Linked DNA regions of Homo sapiens: region 2 is linked to region 1. The links are contacts of gene promoters, found by promoter capture Hi-C in human tissues and cell types (Jung and others, 2019). All regions are on one chromosome and are shown on one strand. The core of a region is centred on a gene start or on the middle of the fragment in contact, and the rest is flanking DNA. Distances in the headings are between cores, read along the strand shown. Region 1 holds the start of ENO4 (enolase 4). Region 2 overlaps SHTN1 (shootin 1).

Region 1 (2,700 bases), core at 201-2,700:
TAGTTTCTCAGCATCCACTGTGTGCCATGCACTCTGCTGGGTACTAGGGACACAAATGTGGTTTGATTTTTTTTCTTCTGTCACTATGTCCTTTGGGAAAATCATTTAAATTGCACTGGCCACAGGTTCTTTATTTGTAAAATGGGAATCATCATTTTTACCTCGTCGCAGTGGTACTGAGGATTGAGTTACAGTACGCAGCACAAGGGGCTCAGTAAACCCCACACCTCTCCCCTTTGATAGTATAGGCCATGAGTGGGAAAAAGTCATTCGCGGAACATCCTTTATATCAACTGCCTCAATACGACGTGGTTTTGCACCCTGACAGCACATCTGCCTCTTCATAGGACTCCTTCTGCTTGGTGTTCACATTGCCTCCTTGCTTTGCCTTGCCATAGTGCAAACTCCTAGGGGCCCCAGCCACACTGCCTTCCTTACTACTTATAGATCTGGAAGGGAGAAAACGTCTTTGCTTCAGCTGCTCACTGCTTAACGCTAAGGTATGTGCCAGATCTCAGGGCTGGGCAGAGACCCGGAAGGTGAGAAGACAAGGCTTCTGAGCCCAGCAGGGGCTCACAGGCTGCCTAGGGAGGCTGCCTCAAGAGACTACAATACACGAAGGAAATGCTGTAGGAACCCAGAAGGACGGTTGGTCCAGGGCTACGTGGGCAAGGCTTTGGTCTGAATTTTGGAGTTTAGGGCGGGGCTGGTCAGATATTAACTGGCATCCCGGCAGAGGAGCCAGTAGGATGAGGCCCCAGAATAGGCTGAAGCCAAGTTGTAGCAAACGCCAAGGTGTTCATCCTGTGATCAAAGAGGAGCTGCTTAAGGTCGGTGAGCTGAGCTGAGGGCATTAAGGTATGTGTTAAAAATGACAATTGGCAAGCATGGGCGGTGGGCCGGCCCACAAACGGAGAGGCCTCTTAGGCAGCGAGGAAGCCTGCCAGCCCCTGGGCTGCCGCTGCAGGTCAAATACGCCTAGCGCCCTCTTTCCTCCAGCTGCCTCCTTTCTGCCACTTTCTCTGGGGAGATCCCTTCACCCCTGGGTGTCCTTCCCGCTCCTTCCCTCCAGAAGTCTCCTCCGCACACGCAGGCCCAGGGCCCGGGCGGCTGGCATGCGAGATTCTGAGGCGCAGGCGCAGGCGCAAGGCGTTGCCGCAGCGCGGGGCGGGGGGAGAGGGGTTGGCGGGAGGAGAGCGCTTGTCCCAGGTCCCTACCAGGTGCCCGTAGACGTCGGCAGGCTGGAGGTAGAAGGTGGAGTTGAGCAGCTCTTCCAGCCTGCGCGGAACGTCGTTCTCCCGGTAGTACTCCATCGCCTGCTGCTTCAGCTTCTGCAGCTCCCTAGTGGTCCCACAGCTGCGGCCGCCGCCTTCTTCCTCCATGGTAGGAGATTTAAGGCTACAGCGGGGTTTAGCCTGGGGTCCCACGAGCGTCCCTGCTGTCGCTAGGCAACGCAACGTGATCCCGACCCCCAGATCTCGCGTGGCTTCCAGGCCTAGGTTCTTCCTGCGGTAAAAGTCGTTCCCTTTTATTGGAGCTAGGATGGTATTTGCGCTCGCTGCTCTGTCTTTTCTCCCTGCGGCATTAGGTCCGGGGGTTGGGCTCCTCCTAGACTCCCGAGACTAGGGCCCTCCCGGCTTCGTTTTTCACCACTTTTCCCTGGCGATTTTCCAGAGGGGGAAATCTTTAACGACCTCATCAAGCGCGTTTTGCCGGAGCGCGGCAGCCTTAGCTCCGAATTCCGGCTGGGGTCGCGCGCTCGGGTCCCAGTGGCCCAGCGTCTTGGGCCACCCCGCCCTCCCCACGCGCCCCCTTGCTCTCTGCTGTTAGTGAGCTCCTCCGGGTTGCTAAGGCCGCCCGTGCCAGGCAGGCCCACTCTGTTGGGGGAGGGATGTAGGGGCTCAGGGCATCCTTACTGAGCGGTGGCGATCTCAGGAATTCTTTCATTCGGCTCATGTTTATTAACTACCTGCTCTGAGCCGAGCCGTGTGCTGGCTGGGCCTGCTATGATGTCCAGGAGAGAAACGGCCACTTGCCCTTCTCTGGGATATTAGTGGGGGTGAAATCAATGGAATGAAAAAAACCAGTGTGGGTTGAAAATATCTGGGGTGAACCCTAAGGGATGGTTGTGGTTTGGGCAGACCTAAGGATGGGGGATGATTCAGGCAGGACTTGGGGAGGTAAAACGGAAATGGGGGAATGGCCTTGGCTCACGTTCCCTCTCCAGAATGCTGCCTATGTCCTTGCCCTTTTCAATCCGAAGTGCCTTCCTGGCTTCATTGTACCTGCCAGGTATCATGCGATTACAGAACTTAGTGTGCGTCCTCAGTTCTAGATACTTCCTCTGCTGCAGGAGTGGGCGGCGACGGACAGGGTGTTCTTGTTCCACTCACGCCTGTTTATGTTTCCTACCTAAGCAGATCAGTTACAAGATCTGTGCCACACTTTCCCCCCTCTGGAAAACATCATCTTACCTCCTCTGCCTGTTTCCCGAGTCACTTAGTACAAAATGAGGAAGTGAGTGAGAAAGCACTTTGAAACACAGTTATTTTCAATACATGCACGTATGGGTGCAGATGCATAAAAATGTGATGCTATAAGTACTGTTACACAAACCCAGACATGCACCTTCCAAACTTCCTCCGTGTTCTCTCTGCTCTCTTACGGAACGTCTCACTGTCTGTGTGTAATGGACCATCA
Region 2 (2,700 bases), core at 180-2,679, 120 kb before region 1:
TACCTTTACTAAGTGTCTTTAATTAATTTAAGGTTTGGATGTTAGGAAAACAGAGTACTAATTCTTTTTTTCTTACTCTCTTGGTAACTCACAGAACAACAGAGTGCCAACTCTTTACTCAGTCTCAAAAGGAGAGAAAACAAGGACTTGGCCAGGCGCAGTGGCTCACGCCTGTAATCGCAGCACTTTGGGAGGCCGAGGCGGGTGGATCATGAGGTCAGGGAGATCAAGACCATCCTGGCTAACACGGTGAAACCCCGTCTCTAGTAAAAATACAAAAAATTAGCCAGGCGTGGTGGCGGGCACCTGTAGTCCTAGCTATTTTGGACTATTGAGGCAGGAGAATCACTTGAACCAGGGAGGCGGAGGTTGCAGTAAGCCAAGATCTTGCCACTGCACTCCAGACTGGCGACAGGGTGAGACTCCGTCTCAAAAAAACCCCAAAAAAACAAAAAAAATAAGGACTAAGAAAACTTTAAATATTTGTCAGAAAACTGTATCTGGGATAAATAATTCATGGCTTTTGAGCAGAGGGTAGAATTTCAGATTTGGAAGGGAATAGGCAGTATTTTTATCACCAGTGAAGAGCATTAGTTTGTGTGAATCCATTTCTGCGTTAATAAAATTGGTATAAATGACCTTGCTTCATATACCATTTGAGGGTGAAAAAAGATAATCTGTATAAAAAATGCTTAACACTGTACCTGGCATATAGTAAGTGCTCAATAAATATTAGTTGCTACTACCACCATCTCATCAACTAAAATATCCAATGCCTGATTGCCCTTCAGTATTAAGAGTTCATATCATTTACCTTTAGGGAGTTAGTTCTTTGACACCAGACTCCACATTTGGATAGTGATGGAGGAAGTTTCTTTTGGTGCTGAGTTGAAATCTGAAATCCCTGTAACGTTAACCTACTAGGCCTACATCTTTTTTTGAGACGGAGTCTCATTCTGTTGCCCAGACTGCAGTGCAGTGGCGTGATCTCTGCTCGCTGCGACCTCCGCCTCCTGGATTCAAGCAATTCTTGTGCCTCACTCTCCCAAGTAGCTTGGATTACAGGTGTGTGCCCTCATGCCTGGCTATTTTTTGTATTTTTAGTAGAGATGGGGTTTCACCATGTTGGCCAGATTGGTCTTGAACTCTTGACCTCAAGTGATCCTCTTGCCTCAGCCTCTCAAAGTGCTGCGATTACAGGCGTGAGCCACCACACCCGGCCTAGGCCTACGGAACAGCTGACTAAGGGTTAGGAAAAGCTTTGTTTGGCCATAGGGCTCTACTCTCCCTAGCTTAGCATACTTTTCCCAGGATAAATGTTTTTATCCATATGTCCATGTCATTTTTGATCCTCGCCAGCTCTCTCTGAGCCTTCCTCCTACACACAAAGAACACCACTACATAGCAAAGCTGCATTCCCTAGACCGGATTCCTGTGAAAGGTAACTAAAGACCTTTCATATCTTTTTATTTATTTATTTATTTATTTTTGAGATGGAGTTTTGCTCTTTTTGCCCAGGCTGGAGTACAGTGGCGTGTTCTTGGCCCACTGCAACCTCCGCCTCCTGGGTTCAAGTGATTCTCCTGCCTCAGCCTCCCAAGTAGCTGGGATTACAGGCAGCTAACTTTGTATTTTTAGTATAGACAGGGTTTCACCATGTTGGCCGGGCTGGTCTCGAACTCCTGACCTCAGGTGATCTGCCTGCCTTGGCCTCCCAAAGTGCTGGGATTACAGGCATGAGCCACCGCGCCCAGCCCCTTTCATGTCTTTTCAGCCACAATATTAGATCCATTAATCTGTTTTAAGGACACACCGATTTTCCTACATATATGCCAACTTTCATGGCTCTTTCCTTACCACATGGAAAACTTTTGAAGTAGTGTGATGTTGAAGAAGAATTTGTGATATGTTCACCACATATGCTTTAGAGATATTCTACATCTAAATATCGCTGGGAGTTAGAGTTGGGAGAGATTTGCTCTAGAAGCAACATCATTGGTGGTGACACCTTGTATAATGAATTAGAAAGGACTATAGAAAAGTAGAGTCACCTAGAAATGGTTTTAACTGGGTTTTACCAGTTAGAACTCTGTGATTTGGAATATGTTATTTAACTTCTCTGGGCCTCCGTGTTCTCAAATATAAAATTGCTGTGATGATCCCTACGTTATAGGATTGTTGTGAGGCTTTGTGAAGGAGGGAACACATGTAAAGAGTTTAGCACAAGGCTGGACACATAGTCAGGCTCAACAAATGGCGATGGTAGTTGTTTCCTAAGCAATTCTATACTACAGAGAACATTCTCATAAAAGGCTGTTCACAGGCGAGCTTAGGCCTTCAGTCCTTCAAATAGACACTAACACGAGCACCTGCTTTGCATGTAGCATTGTGCTAGGTGCAAGAGAATCAGACATGTAAAACAAAATCCCTGCTCTAATGTTCATAGTGAGTAGAAGATAAAAACAAGTAAAAAAAAAAAAAAACAGTTACCCTACAATGTGATGTGTACTACACTGCCATTTATGTAAGACTGCTTTGAAGTCATAGTTGAAGAGAGACAAACTTCGCTAATTCAAGTAGACTAATAGAAACAATACTTGATGTACTTTTATGTTATACTTCTATGTTCTCAGGGTCATTAAAATTTTTTTACTATGAAAAATTTCAAAGTGATGCAAAGGCGGGAAAATAATTTAACGA

Evidence for each region. Contacts are between HindIII fragments. The study calls those that stand out against the background at their distance.
Region 2: a fragment that was not itself captured here is called in contact with the fragment with the promoter of ENO4 in region 1 in 2 of the 25 tissues and cell types used here (adrenal gland and aorta).

The regions. Positions count from the first base shown.
Region 1 is chr10:116,848,249-116,850,948 of GRCh38, reverse strand. It overlaps ENO4 (enolase 4), which reads right to left and starts at 1,450. Exons shown (of 14, transcript NM_001242699.2): 1 at 1,218-1,450. The coding sequence starts at 1,382. It also overlaps a transcript of HSPA12A not described here. RefSeq lists an enhancer at 2,634-2,700. The HindIII fragment of the contact is 11,920 bases long and covers 1-2,700 here.
Region 2 is chr10:116,963,757-116,966,456 of GRCh38, reverse strand. The region is part of intron 3 of SHTN1 (shootin 1); the gene reads left to right. Among named protein-coding and RNA genes, the nearest start is that of SHTN1, 40 kb to the left of the region's middle. The HindIII fragment of the contact is 3,633 bases long and covers 1-2,700 here.